Regions from separate parts of the Homo sapiens genome. Here regions 1 and 2 are each linked to region 3. The links are contacts of gene promoters, found by promoter capture Hi-C in blood cells and fetal thymus (Javierre and others, 2016). All regions are on one chromosome and are shown on one strand. The core of a region is centred on a gene start or on the middle of the fragment in contact, and the rest is flanking DNA. Distances in the headings are between cores, read along the strand shown. Region 1 overlaps CA5BP1-CA5B (CA5BP1-CA5B readthrough). Region 2 holds the start of LOC124905268 (small nucleolar RNA SNORA7). Region 3 holds the start of S100G (S100 calcium binding protein G).

Region 1 (4,887 bases), core at 2,053-4,552, 950 kb before region 3:
CTATAGAAATTGGTGGATTCCATGCCATCAACTAAGTGTGGGGTAGTATTTTTCCTAAATTGCCTGAAATATATTTTGTGTTTCAATCTCAAGAGTGGAGACATTACCAAGGCACTTTGAATTGGGAAGTTTAAGTAGGTGAACTGTATTCCAGTTCTCTTTCAACACTGCCTTAGAAGGAGACCTGTAATTTATGAATGACCCTGGCCCTGGGTCACATTGCAGGGGACAGAAGTGATCATGTGGGTGGGCCAGTGAGCTTTCTGGTTTTGCTGCAGTGCCGCTGAGGACTTGGGGACTCAGGAACATATTGCTGTCCCCTCCTCTGTTCCTGACACCGGCTCCTTCTAAGTCCTTGTGAACACACCCAGAGCAGCCTTCTGTTCTGTAGCTGCCATCCCACAGGCAGGGAGCAGAGCGCAGTTCTACAGAAACTTGCCTTGTCCAGCTGGAAAGAACAATGACCCACATCCTTCAGGTTGGATGCCTTTGTCCAGCCCCCCAAGATTATTTCTTCTATATTCAGAATCTCAAAGGGCTGTGCTCTGGAGGCCCATATATTGTCTCCTTCTCCCTTTCATCCCCCACTGTATCCTTCTGGTCCCCACCTCTTTCCCCCTGCTTTCCTCTCCATTTCCCTCTTTTTTCCTCTCTCCCCTTTTAGTCCAGGTTTCTGGCTCCTCCTGATCTGCATTTCATTTTTTGTTTGTTTCTATCAACTTTTATTTTAGATACAGGGGGTACCATGTGCAAGTTTGTTACATAAGTATGTTGCATGATGGTGAGGTTTGGGGTACAGATTCCATCACTCAGGTAATGAGCACAGTACCAAATGGGTAGTTTTTTAACCCTCTCCCCCCTCCAGTAACCCCCAGTGTCTATTGTTCCCATCTTTATATCTGTGTGCTCAATGTTTAGTTCTCTCAAGAACATGCAGCATTTGGTTTTCTGTTCCTGCATTAATTCGCTTAGGATGATGGCTTCCAGCTGCATCCATGTTGCTGCAAAGGACATTATTTCATTTTTTATGGCTGTGTAGTATTCCATAGTGTATATATTACATTTTCTTTATCCAGTCCGCCGCTGATGGGCACCTAGGTTGATTCTGTGTCTTTGCTATTGTGAATAGTGTGACAGTGAACATATGAGTGCATGTGTCTTTTTGGCAAAATGATTTATTTTCCTTTGGGTTTATATCCAGTAATGGTATTGCTGCATTAAATGGTAGCTCTGTTTTTAGTTATTTGAGAAATCTACAAACTACTTTCCATAGTGGCTGAACTAATTTACATTCCCACCAACAGTGTATATGCATTCCCTTTTTGCCACAGCCTCACCAACATCTGTTGTTTTTTGACTTTTTAATAATAGCCATTCTGACTGTTTTAAGATGGTATCTCGTTGCGGTTTTGATTTGTACTTTTCTGATGATTACTGATGATGAGCATTTTTCATGTTTGTTGGCTACTTGTATGTCCTGAGAAATGTCTGTTCATGTCCTTTGTCCCTTTTTTAATGGGGTTGTTTTTCTGCATTGCATTTTAAAAGGAAAATTCTCAGTCTCCCTTGAAGAAGTGAAGCCTCCTTCTTTATGCACTGGCCACTGTCTAATACCTCCCAGCAATACTCAGAGGAGACTACCTGCTGGAACCTCACTAGAATTGAGAGATCAAATGGTTTTGGCTGTTTTCCCACTGGAGAATATAAAAAATACACAGTTAATTTTAGAAACAAAGGCTGGGCATGATTCCATCCTAAGCAGCAATTCTTCAGGTAGCTGCCCAGAAGGGCCTGGAGCTCCTCTGGACCACTGCTGATCTCCAGATACTCCCTGAGAACCGTCACCTCGGCGTCCAATTCCTGAGTGGTTTTCACTACTAAATAATGACTCAGTGACCCAGTCTCTTGGCCAGGACGCTGTTATGGAATTTGGGTCGTTTGGCACTTCCTGCCTGGTGCCCACCTGTCTAGATTACTGGACCCAAGTAGGTCCAGTATCTCCCTGGTCCAGCCCTGTCTTGAGTCCATCACCTTTATCATTAAGAAGCAGCCAGTAGAGGTTGATGATGATCAGGTACGTTCTCTCCACAATTTTCATCTAAGGAAATCCTCGTCTCCCCTTTTAAAACAAGGCTGGGCTCAGACTGTGGCATCAGTTTTAACATCTTGTAATGCTTATACATTTTTATTGAAGTGTACCAACGTCTTATCTCAGTTTGGACATGAATTTAGAGATATTTCAAATTAGCTAGAGAGAAGAGTTAAAACATAGAAGAACATAAGCTTTTTACATCTATATTTGACAGTGACATATGTTTTTATTATACATGCATTGTGTAGATTCTCTATGAAAATTAAGACCCTTTTAAATAAAAAAACGAAGGCTGGAAATGGGTGTATTCAAAACCCTTTAAAATCCTTAAGGGAGTTTTGCTATAGAATCTCAGGATAAAGACAGACTCCGACAATATTCATCCAGAAATTTTCATGTAAGTCAGTTGTTTGAAACTTGGGATTTATTTTTCTCTTAGAAACTAAGTCTAAGTGGTGGTTACTACATCAGCACACAAAATCCTGTTTAATTCATAAACTAAACTGTAATAATAACTGCGTTTACTTGTTCATATTGGATTTTTATTGACTAAAAGCTTCCAGCCTCTTTTTCATGCAGCCAGGATAACAGTGATACCAAAACCTATCAAAGATTAGACCATCCTACCCCCAAAATATAACAATAGGCCAATATCTCTAAAAAATATGTAACAACAGAAAAAAAAGCTAAATAAAATAGTAGAAATAGAATCTAGCAGTGCATTAGAAGAAATATATACTTTGTCCAGGTAGGGTTTATTCCAGTAATCCACAGATGGTTCAGTACTAAGAATGATATACTTACAATTAATGGATTTCATCCCATCAACAAATCTATATGATCATTTCCATGGATTTCCTAAAATACGTTAGACAAAACCCACCATCCCTTTAAAAATTTTTTTAATAAAACAGAAATGAAGAATTCCCTAACTGGATGAAGTAGATTTATCTCAGCTCAAAAATAAATAGTATGTTTAATGTGGAAAGGATATCATTAACTCCATGGTTATTAGCATACTAAATATTAAATTTAATTGAATTAACCTCTGGCAGGAGCCAATAAAGTTAGGCCAAAAAACATAAAGAACATTAGAGAAACACTAAAAACTCCTACAAAGATAATTCAGCAATTAGTGGAGTACCATGTCAATTTATAGAAATCAATTCCGTTGGCATATATAACTCACAGTTAGTTAAAAGACATAACAGAAGAAGGAAACCTACTTATAATAGAAACTAAAATAATGTTAATAAACAACATAAAATGTTAAGAAAGCTATAAAACATTTCTGAGGGACACAGAAGACTTGACTTTATAAAATTCATACCCTGTTTTTACATAGGAAGATATTATAAAGACACCTTTGATGTCAGTTCTCCTTAAGTTGATTCCATAAATTTAATATGGTTTTAATAAAAATACCAACAGAATTTTAAAACTAGATATAGTACTTCTAGAGTTCATGTGGAAAAGCAGATAAGCATGAATAGCTGGAAAAATTCTAAAGGAGGAAAATAAGGAATGATTAGACCCATAAGGCTTTAAAGCCACAATAATTAAATAGTATGATACTAGCACATGAATAGGAAGATAAATCAAGGAAGAAAATAGTTCAGAAATATGTCCAAATACATGAGAATTTACTTTATGGTAAAGATAGGATCTCAGCTCAATGCAGGAAAAGATAAATCCAGTAAATGGCATTGGGGGACAACTGAGCAGGCATTTAGGAGAAAAAGTTGGACCCATCGTTCAATCCTGACAAAAATATATTCTGGATGGAACAAAACTTTAAAGGTAAAAAAATGCCATAGAAGTACGAGGATAAGCATAGGAAAATTCTTTCATACATCCAAGTGGAGGAAGCTTTTCTAACTATAAATCAAAACCCAGAAGTAATCAAGAAAACAACTAGCAATTAGACTACATACAAAAATTTTAAAATCCTTTCTGATGAAAATCACCGTAAACAAAAGATAAATGACAAACAGGGAAAACATTTGCAACTCTGTTCCCTCATTCAGCTACTATTTATTCAATGCCTACTATATGCCAGCTACTCTTCTAGGTGTTTGAGACATCATAGTGAACAAAACAGAGAGTTAATTGCCCTAATATACAAAGAGTTTCTAGAAATCAGTTTTTAGATAATCAACAGCAAATGGTATAAACAGACAGCTTACAGTTAAGGAAACAAGAAACCCAATACCATGTGAAAAAATTTTCAGCCTTGCTTATAAAAAGTGACGAAACAAGATGAAACTACACTGAAATACAAATTTTCACATATCAGATTAGCAGAAACCCCAAAATTGTATTGCTCACAGTGCTGGTACAAGTGTGGAGCATGGGCAGCCTCATGTGTTACTGGTAGGTGGTAATGACACATGAATAAAGATATAATAGGCTAAAAAGTATGTTGTTTTACTAATAGTTAATTACAATATCAAAGGAAGATACAATGCTAAGTTGGTACTATTGTAGTAGCTATCAGAGTGCAGTTTACCAAACAGCAATTTATCCTACACATAAACTGCAGACCTAAACAATAATACATATACATAGTTATTCTTTGCACCATTGTTTGCAAACAACCTAAATACCAGTCACCTCTATGGCATTCCTCCTCCAAAATTTGTATTCCCTCATCTAAATCATGAGAAAAGACAAAACCAAACTGAAAAAGGACTTCTACAAAATACATCACCAGCCGTCTTCAAAAGCATCAAGGTCATGAAAAACAAGGCAGAAAAACTCCAGAGTGGAGGAGACCAAGGAGGAGTAGGTTCTGG
Region 2 (4,204 bases), core at 88-2,587, 930 kb before region 3:
AGGTACACACCACCGTGCCCAATTAATTTTTTAAAAATGTTTTGTAGAGACGGGGTCTCACTTTGTACTCAGACTGGTATTGAATTCTTGGTTTCAAGTTATCCTTCCACCTCAGCCTCCCAAAGTGTTAGGATTACAGGTGTGAGCCACTGTGCCCAGCCAGGATGGATTTCAAACTAATTTACATTGCAGTGAAACAACTCCCTTGGGCATGAAGGAAGAACTGGCTTTAGATGTTCCCTTGTACTATCTGTAATATAACTTCAGATAGGAAAAGAATAACTTGCTGAAATACAAATAAAATCCAAATCCTCATTTCGGTGAAGAATTTTAGGATTCTCTTTCCTCAAAGTTATTTTCATAAATATAAGGAAAAATAAATTTGAGTTTCACTATCCCCTTGGTGCCTTTCCCTGCTTAAGTAGCAGAAGCACACAAAGACCTCTAATCTACAAACTTGAAAATCAAGAAAGACTATTGTTGATTAAGAGTTGGTACATGCTGTAAAGATAGGGAAGGCTTATTAACACAATGTAGAGATGATGAATGAGCCTGTTCAAGTGTAGATAACAATGATAAGCTCAGAGCAGCAGATAAAAATGAAGATCCTACCTCCCAGGATGGCATCTGGAAGTGGATAGTATTCTGCCAGCTTTGGAAACTGGATGAAAAGCAAATCTGGCAGAGGTACCCATTTCATTCCCAGCTTGCTCAGTAGCTGGTGATTGGAAGAAACTCTGCAACAGTGTTCAATCCCTGGACAGGAAACCCTCCTTCCATGATTCTTCTTTAACATGGGTCTGAGAAAAAGAGAAATACAGTATTTTTTAAAATGAAGATGCTAGCCAACTCTCACCAGAACACATACTTAAATTGTTTTTCAGATCTTGAGGATGATTTAACCTGATCTGTCCTTTCATTGATTCCTCTTAAAACCAAGAGCTTGAGCTGGCTGGGTAGGGGTCCAGTTTTGGTCACAAAAGAAAGCCCCAAGCTATTTAGATCAGAACAGGATTGATGTAGTTCTAGATTGGGTTGGGTATCCTGCCAGTGGAACCAACTTATCCTGGGCAAGTGTGAACAGATTGAAAGCTTGTTCATTGAAATACATAGCATACTTCTCCTAGGGCATTCAAAACATTTCAAAGAAAGAGCCTCCATGCATAAGTGAAATTGAGCATATATACTAATGAGAAGGTGTACAACTCACAAGAGGATAAGGAAAGAGATAATAGCTCTCAACATATGTATACTCTGTGACCCAAATTTCTATTCCTAAGTAAATACCCAAGAAAAAGCATACAGAAAAAACACGTACAAGAAGGTCCATAGCAGTTTAGCCACCTGTTGTGCATGTATCTGACACATAATAGGTGCTCAATAAATGTATATAATTGAACATATCTTTATATCCCACATATGGTTTCACAGGCCAAGTGACACATACTAGTTGTGTCATCAGTTCATACTTCTAGCATGTACTATAAATACTTTAATAAAAACCATTTTATTAACAATTTCCATTTTAGTCTATTATTGCTTTAATAAAACATTGGAATGAGGTCTTTAGGAATGATTTACTCAAGCTTAAGATAACTATGCAGAAGGGCCCAGCAATAAAGAAAGTGTTATTAGAAAGCAATTTTTTCAAAATGAACACTCAGGTACTTCACTTACCGTTTTAGTTGCCAGAGCTGCTCTGTCTCACTCTAAAAGCATTTTCTTGCAAAGGGGTTGGTTTTGATCAACCCAAAAATCTGGCAGCTGTGAAAATCAAAGTTAATGCTATAGAACAGCGTTGTCCAATGGGACATTCTGTGATGATGGGAATGTTCTGTGTCTGTATATGGCAGCCACTACACATAGATGGCTATTGAGCACTCGAAAGAGTGGTAATAATGACAAAATGTGTCAAACAGAGCCCAGTGATTCCTAATATTTTATGCAACTGGAATGAACAAAAAACAGATCTACAACTGAATGGCTCCAAATTATTTACTGAAAGTTTACCCTCTGTCATTTTAGGTGGTTTAATATTTTCTGTTGAAACTCATAAAACAGTCACAGGCTCAAATTTCAAGCCTCAACACATCTGCAAATTTAGAGAAATAACAAGTCCTTTAAATCAAAGATGCACTCAACAGAAAACTGGTTTGTTTTTGTTTATTTTTTTTATTTTTGCTTGGAACAGAGCTGGATGCAAAATTAGGTTGTTTATTGCTGTTTTTTAATATTATTTTTATTGCTGTTTTGACAGTGGTTATTGTCCAGCCTTTTCTCTTACTGGCCCATGTTAATGTATTTTTAAGTTTCAAGGCTAACTACCTGGTTGACAGAGTTCCACCTGAATAGCAATTTCTGGCCAGGCACGGTGACTCATGCCTGTAATCCCAACACTTTGGGAGGTGGATCACTTGAGGTCAGGAGTTCGAGACCAGCCTGCCCAACATGGTGAAACCCTGTCTCCACTAAAAACACAAAAATTAGCCGGGCGTGGTGGCGGGCGCCTGTAATCCCAGCTACTTGGGAGTTTGAGGCTGGAGAATTGCTTGAACACGATCTCATCACTGCACTCCAGCCTGGGCCACAGAGTGAAACTTCATCTCGAAAGAAAGAGAGAGAGAGAGAGAGGGAGGGAGGGAGGGAGGGAGGGAGGGAAGAATAGCAGTTACCAGGAAAAGAGGTCACAACATCCTTTTGGAATAGAAAACAAAAGGCAAACAAAAAAGGAAGAAAAACCCACTCTGCACTTAAAGCTGCCTGAGCCATTCTGTGACCCAGATTAAAATATCAGAAAAAGAACAAAGCCACCACCTAAAAGGTTTAATGATTAACACCCATCATTTGGGTTAATATTTTCATAGAAGTCACCTGTCTCCTGTCAGTTATTTATGGAAATCTACAGATTCGTTGTTTTTTTCCAGACTCTACCTCAAAAGAATGTTTCCTCTGCTGACTCAAAGTTGGAATCCTTCCCTCACCCCTTCTGCGAGTCTCTGGTTACGTGTATGATGGGAAGAATTGAGTCCTATCTAGAGGTTTTTTGGCATGCACCTTCCACCTTTTCGGGGCTAGGATACCTGGTTCATAGACAGACTATCTTCATTCAGGAAACAAACGTGACTCCTTTCTCTCTGGTAAACAAAGGGTGCCCTTCCATGAAGGGCCTCACCTGACTCACCACAGCGGGTGAACATCCCAGGAGAGCTTCAGAGCTTCCTCTTACCTACTTGAGGGTAGAGGGTGGGAGGAGGGAGAGGATCGAAAAACTACCTATCGAATACTGTACTTATTGTCTGGGTGACAAAATAATCTGTACACCAGACTCCCGTGACACACAATTTACCTATATAACACACTTGCACATGTACCCCTGAACCTAAAATAAAAGTTAAAAAAGAACGCTGAAGTTGCAACAAAACCTCAGAGATGCTCTGAGAATTAAGATAATGAGTGTAAAAGAATCTTTCCCCGTGGGCATTCCACAGATGCCAATCGACGCCCCGCCCAGAGGTTGATGTCAGGGCTTTCCTCTCTACCATGCTGCCTCTTCATAAATTCAGTCCCCAAATTCTACCCCATTCCTCGAAAATCATGAATGGCAGAATTAGATTGGGTGACCTTGGTGTTAAATAGAAATATTGGATTTTCAAAGCAACAACGAGGAAAATATCAACAATGAGACTTCTGCAGCACTTTGAGAAACACATCATTTCTTCCTCCTTGCAAGGGTGGTATTTTATTGTAAAGGACCCATGTCCATCAGCTAAATCCAACTGAGGAAGCTTTTTCTCTCTCCTTCATCTTGGTCGCAAGGACACGGAGTCAGGAAAAGCTGTACTAAAAGAAGAGGGAGCCACAACTTAGTCCAGCCATCCTAGCAATGTCACTATATTAAGTGCAATGGAAATTTCCAGAAGGAAGAGCTCACCTAGCTAACCCCTGGAAAAAAAAAAAAAAAAGCCAGACTAGATGAAGTCATCTTGGGAAATGTTAAACTAAGTAAAGTCATGATGGTAAGGAAAAATCAATATACATAGAGATAGAGATTATAACAAAGCATTTTATTTGCATCAAGGAAGAAAGCTATGCTAAGGACATAGAAACCTGCTTCAGCTTTCCTTTAGCCTTACACTTCATAAAAGTATCAAGTGGCTTTCTTTGGCTTTTGCTTAGTCATCTATATAGCTAGGGTTGAAGACAG
Region 3 (4,834 bases), core at 478-2,977:
GTGTTCATTGCACTATTCTTGCCACTTTTCTGTAGATCTGAAATATTTTTTAAAAGATGTTTAAAAAAAGATAGTTCTTGTTATGATTAAGCACAAACGCCTACTTCCTCCCAGGAAAACAGAACATATGTGTAAAAACACTGGCAATTTTCTAAAATCTTGATTAAAATGCATTGCCAAAATCAGAATATTTTTGTGTAAAATCTTATAACTAAAAATAAAATGCCTGTCTTTACTCCAACCAGTGAGTTAATACATATTCTATATTGGTGCATAGCAAAGTCAAAGAATCCATAATAAAAACAAGAAGAATATATACAAGACAGCAAAGACACATGGAATGATAAATGCTCAAGACTGGCGGGAAGCTTTTAAGGAATTCTATTAGATTTCCCATTTGTTCTCCAATGTAAATAAGGCCCTAGAATTTTAGAGCTGAGAAACATCAGGGAGAAATACAGTCCCAATAGTCCAGTCCTCAGTTTGTAGGTGATATAAGGCAGAGTCAGGGAAAATTCTATAAGTGTGGAAGTGTACAAGTGTTTCAAAGCTGTAAAGTGCTCTTAAAATCCACCTGGAACCCCTTCCTGTGAGTTACAATCAGCATTAGATCAATGTCCCTTGGAAATGTCCTACTTATTTCATGGAACTCTTTCCAGTAGAAATCAATCTCCTTGGCAATTTTAAATCATGGCAGTTACAAAAAGTTTGAAGTATTTCCAACTGAACAAGAGTAAGTCGAGTGTTCTCACAAGTTTTTCGAATGATCACGAAATATATTTGGTAAGGAAAAGGATAATGAGAAATAAAAAGCAGACACAGGACCAACAAATAATGAAAGAGCTGAAAAAATGACCATGTTACTCAATATTGATTTGCCAAATAAAACCACAAATTACTGAGTATCTTCTTTCCACTTCTTAAACCTGCTTCTGAAGCAATACTTCCATTCATTCATTCATGTATTCAAATATTTAAGCTGCTAATATGTAAAGACATCAGAAGGACTTCAATGGCCATACCGTAATTTTTTAAACTATGTAATATTGTCCTTCTATGACAGCATTTTTTCTTTTTTACAGACAGGATCTCACTCTGTCACCCAGGCTGGAGTGCAGTGGCACAATCATGGCTCACTGTTGCCTCAACCTCCCAGGCTTAAGGAATCCTCCCACCTCAGCCTCTACAGTAGCTGGGACTACAGGCATGTACCATCACACCTGGCTGATTTTTTAAATTTTTCAGTAGAAATGTCTTGCTGTGTTGACCAGGCTGGTATCAAACTCCTCACCTCAAGCAATCCTCCTGCCTCGGCCTCCCAAAGTGCTGGGATTACAGGCATGAGCTACCGCACAGGGCAGCATTTATTTTTTCTGGATATGAAGAAAGTTATTTTTTAAAGCCTAAATATGCAACTAAATTGAAAAGAATCCTCTATATCTAAGCTTTATGAAATGTGAACTGTGAGCAAATATAATTCTACATTGGAGGGAAAATATAATCTCAGGGGGAAAAAAATCCAAGCTTACGACTCTGAACCATGAAGCAACTGTCGAGATGGACCTTTACTGGATCTTGCCCTTAATTATGGGGTTCATGCAGTCTTAAGCCTGAGTTTCAAAAACCATTAATAATTACCCTTAAATGGCCAACAAAAGGAAATTTTCATAATCAGGGTGGCGTGCCCGTAAAGACTATAAAAGTGTCATGATTCTGCTCAGCTCTTCAAACTCCTCTTTGATTCTTCTAGCTGTTTCACTATTGGGCAACCAGGTTAGTGTGATTTTGGTACTACCTAGAGCTCCTTCTGTTTGCATTAATACTCTGCTTCCTTTTAGAATGGTGTGAAAGATAATGGTCTGGAGAGAAGGTGAGTTTATGCCATCTGGAGATATTCCCTGTAACTTAGAAGCTAGAAGCTGTGGTCAAGTATTCTTCAAGACCACAGCCTGCAGAGTGCAGATCAGGTACATAAAAAGTGTAGAATGTCATTAATTACTAATAAAAATGTTTGGCTCCAGGGACCATCTCCTAACAGATGTACTCTAAGAACAGACATTTAACATACTATCTAAGATGTCTTTTTTTTTTTTTTTTTTTTTTTGCAGCGGAGGCTCGCTCTGTCACCCAGGCTGGAGTGCAGTGGCATCGCACTCACTGCAACCTCCGCCTCCCGGGTTCAAGCGATTCTCCTGCCTCGGTCTTCCAAGTAGATGGGACTATAGGCACGCACCACCACGCCTGGCTAATTTTTGTATAGAGACAGGGTCTCACCATGTTGGCCAGGCTTCCATGGTCTCGAACTCCTGACTTCAAGTGATCCACCCTCCTTGGCCTCCCAAAGTGCTGGGATTACAGGCATGAGCTACCGTGCCTGGCCTAAGATGCTTATTTTTTAAACATGTTAGTAGTTACTGGTGCCATTCCGACCCCGACATTCTCTTTTCCTTATTCTTCCCCATTTATGCCAAGGAAATGGCCCAATGGCACTAAAATCCTGCAGACAACCCTCAGCACAAAACTGTACTTCAGCTTTTTGGTAAGTTTATTTTCTTCCCAATTTATAAGACACCAGAATGAGTACTAAAAAGTCTCCTGAGGAACTGAAGAGGATTTTTGAAAAATATGCAGCCAAAGAAGGTGATCCAGACCAGTTGTCAAAGGATGAACTGAAGCTATTGATTCAGGCTGAATTCCCCAGTTTACTCAAAGTAAGTGGCCATCCGCAGAGCCCACTTAATGGGACTGATGGTGGGAGGGGAGGGAGGGAGGGGAGAGGACTCCGGTAGAGCCTTATAGGGACCGTCGCTTGAGGGAGGACACATGCAGGTGGGGTTTCTTCCCCTTAAGTCAGGCCACATTTCAGAAGGCAAGCTCTCAGAAAACAAGGGCCAAGCCTTCTATCCCTCCTGCAGCCTCAGCACAGGACTCTGCAGGACTAGCCATAATAAATGGAAGCAATGCCAAGTTATGCCTGGAAGACCCACAAGTCACCAAGCAAACCCAATAAGGCCTTCAGCATGGATTCAGTACTTCTGTGCCAGGCTTTAGGAAAACAAAGAGGACTGCAAAATAGTGTTAGCTGGCCTTGGACAGGCTTCATTTGTGTATGTAAAATCCCTCAACAAGACCAACACTTACTTAGCAGTCTGTTAGGAAAACCCACTGACAAATTGCCTTGTCAGCACTCATTTATATTTCAAAAGCATTTACATTTGTGTTCATCACTTAAATTTGTGTTAATGAGGCAACCGTGCATTTCTAAACAACTTTCAAGAAAGGACTAAATTTCCTGGGCCATAAAGTTTCACATCAAAATCACCCCAGAGTTGTCAAAATCAAAATGCATTCAAGGCAACAGAGTACAGAGAAGAGCTGATCGTCCTCACTCCAATATACAGTACTGTCTTTCCTTTTGCTAAAGAAAAAGCTGAGTCAGGACACTTGCCAAGGATGGTAAGGCAACTTACTCCAGGAGGGCCATGGCGACCCATACAGGGACCACTGAAACGTGTTCTTGCCATGGGGAGAGAGATTGGGCTCAACTCCAGAAAGGATAAGTGGGGGTTTATGACCATAGAGCAGGATGGGGGGGGCCAGTGGATGGAAAATTACCAAGGAAATATCCAGGATAAGGAGCTTCTGGCTAAATTGCCTTGATAGGATTCTAGCTGAAGGCAGGCCAGGTGATCAAATATTAAGGGTAGTCAGATACAAGGACAGAGAGGGAAGCCCAAGGTCAGGCCTAGTCGAGCAGAGGACTCAAAGGAGAGAGTCATTGTCATTTTGCAATTAAAAACCATCTTCACAACAGAAGTGACTATGGAATTGTTTTGTATGACTCAGTCACTATTTAGCTCTAACTTCAGGAAAGAACATTTCTTCAAATATTTTAACCAGCTCTCCAGATTTTAACCAGAAATGTCCCTTCTGCCAATATGACAATTGGAAAGACTTCTGTTTTTAATACTAAAAAAGAAAAAAGCTGAATTCAATGACCCCAGAATCTGATATTTTCTCATTTTCTCATAGTTGAAATATAGAAGAACTTGTAAAAACACTTAAAGTCACTAGCAGAAAAAGGGACTTTTTAATTAAACAGCAAAACAAGTTAGTGAAAAAATTTAAAATTTTAAAAGACCCTTTATTTTTTCTAAAAGGAAGAAAAATAATCATCTAACAGGAAAGCCTAGGCCATGTACTCAAACAAGTTGTTTCAAAAGGTAACACGGGTAACTTTTTCTATATTTTATGTCTTTCCTACAAAAAGTACGTAAGACATAATCTGGAACGAGGTAGGAAGACTAATGGTAAGTTCTGAAAGTCTACTTAACATGTACCTGATTATATTCCCATAAGGTTTCCATTACTAAGGTTTTCCACCATACTCTGTTTACATATATCATCACCATGCATGGTTTAGAATCTAGTAAAGGCTTCAGGAAAACAGTGTTTCATATTCATAAATCAAAGGCTGAATAAGTAACTTACAGTTTGGTCTTGTAATTAAAGCAAAGTGCTAAGTGTTTTTGTAGGAATCTTAGGGGTTAAAATATATCTTCCATAGAGATGTGCTGCACAAAATTGTGAATCTACTTAGCACTACTGAACTGTATGCTTAAAAATGATTAAGAGCGTAAATTCAATGTTATGTGTTTTTTACCACAATTTATATATACATATATATATATAATATAGTCTAATTTGAAACTGACAAACTGAACTGTTATTTCAATCGGTTTTCTAAGTAGTATTTTGCACAGATAGACTCCTACCTGAAAGTCCAAGTAGTAATGGCTTTAAGATTAGAGTTTTATGGTAGAGACAAAAATTA

What was found. Contacts are between HindIII fragments. The CHiCAGO score rates a contact against its expected background, and 5 or more counts as called.
Region 1: a contact is called between a fragment that was not itself captured here and the fragment with the promoter of S100G in region 3, in 1 of 17 cell types (activated CD4 T cells). The highest score is 5.6, in activated CD4 T cells.
Region 2: a contact is called between a fragment that was not itself captured here and the fragment with the promoter of S100G in region 3, in 1 of 17 cell types (naive CD4 T cells). The highest score is 5.3, in naive CD4 T cells.

The regions. Positions count from the first base shown.
Region 1 is chrX:15,695,692-15,700,578 of GRCh38, forward strand. The region is part of intron 3 of CA5BP1-CA5B (CA5BP1-CA5B readthrough); the gene reads left to right. It also overlaps the pseudogene CA5BP1. Among named protein-coding and RNA genes, the nearest start is that of CA5BP1-CA5B, 23 kb to the left of the region's middle. The HindIII fragment of the contact is 1,313 bases long and covers 2,647-3,959 here.
Region 2 is chrX:15,715,599-15,719,802 of GRCh38, forward strand. The region is part of intron 3 of CA5BP1-CA5B (CA5BP1-CA5B readthrough); the gene reads left to right. It overlaps LOC124905268 (small nucleolar RNA SNORA7), which reads left to right and starts at 610; the gene lies at 610-748. The HindIII fragment of the contact is 494 bases long and covers 1,091-1,584 here.
Region 3 is chrX:16,648,431-16,653,264 of GRCh38, forward strand. It overlaps S100G (S100 calcium binding protein G), which reads left to right and starts at 1,728. Exons shown (of 3, transcript NM_004057.3): 1 at 1,728-1,773; 2 at 2,569-2,711. The coding sequence starts at 2,577. The region is part of intron 13 of CTPS2 (CTP synthase 2); the gene reads right to left. The HindIII fragment of the contact is 12,685 bases long and covers 1,523-4,834 here.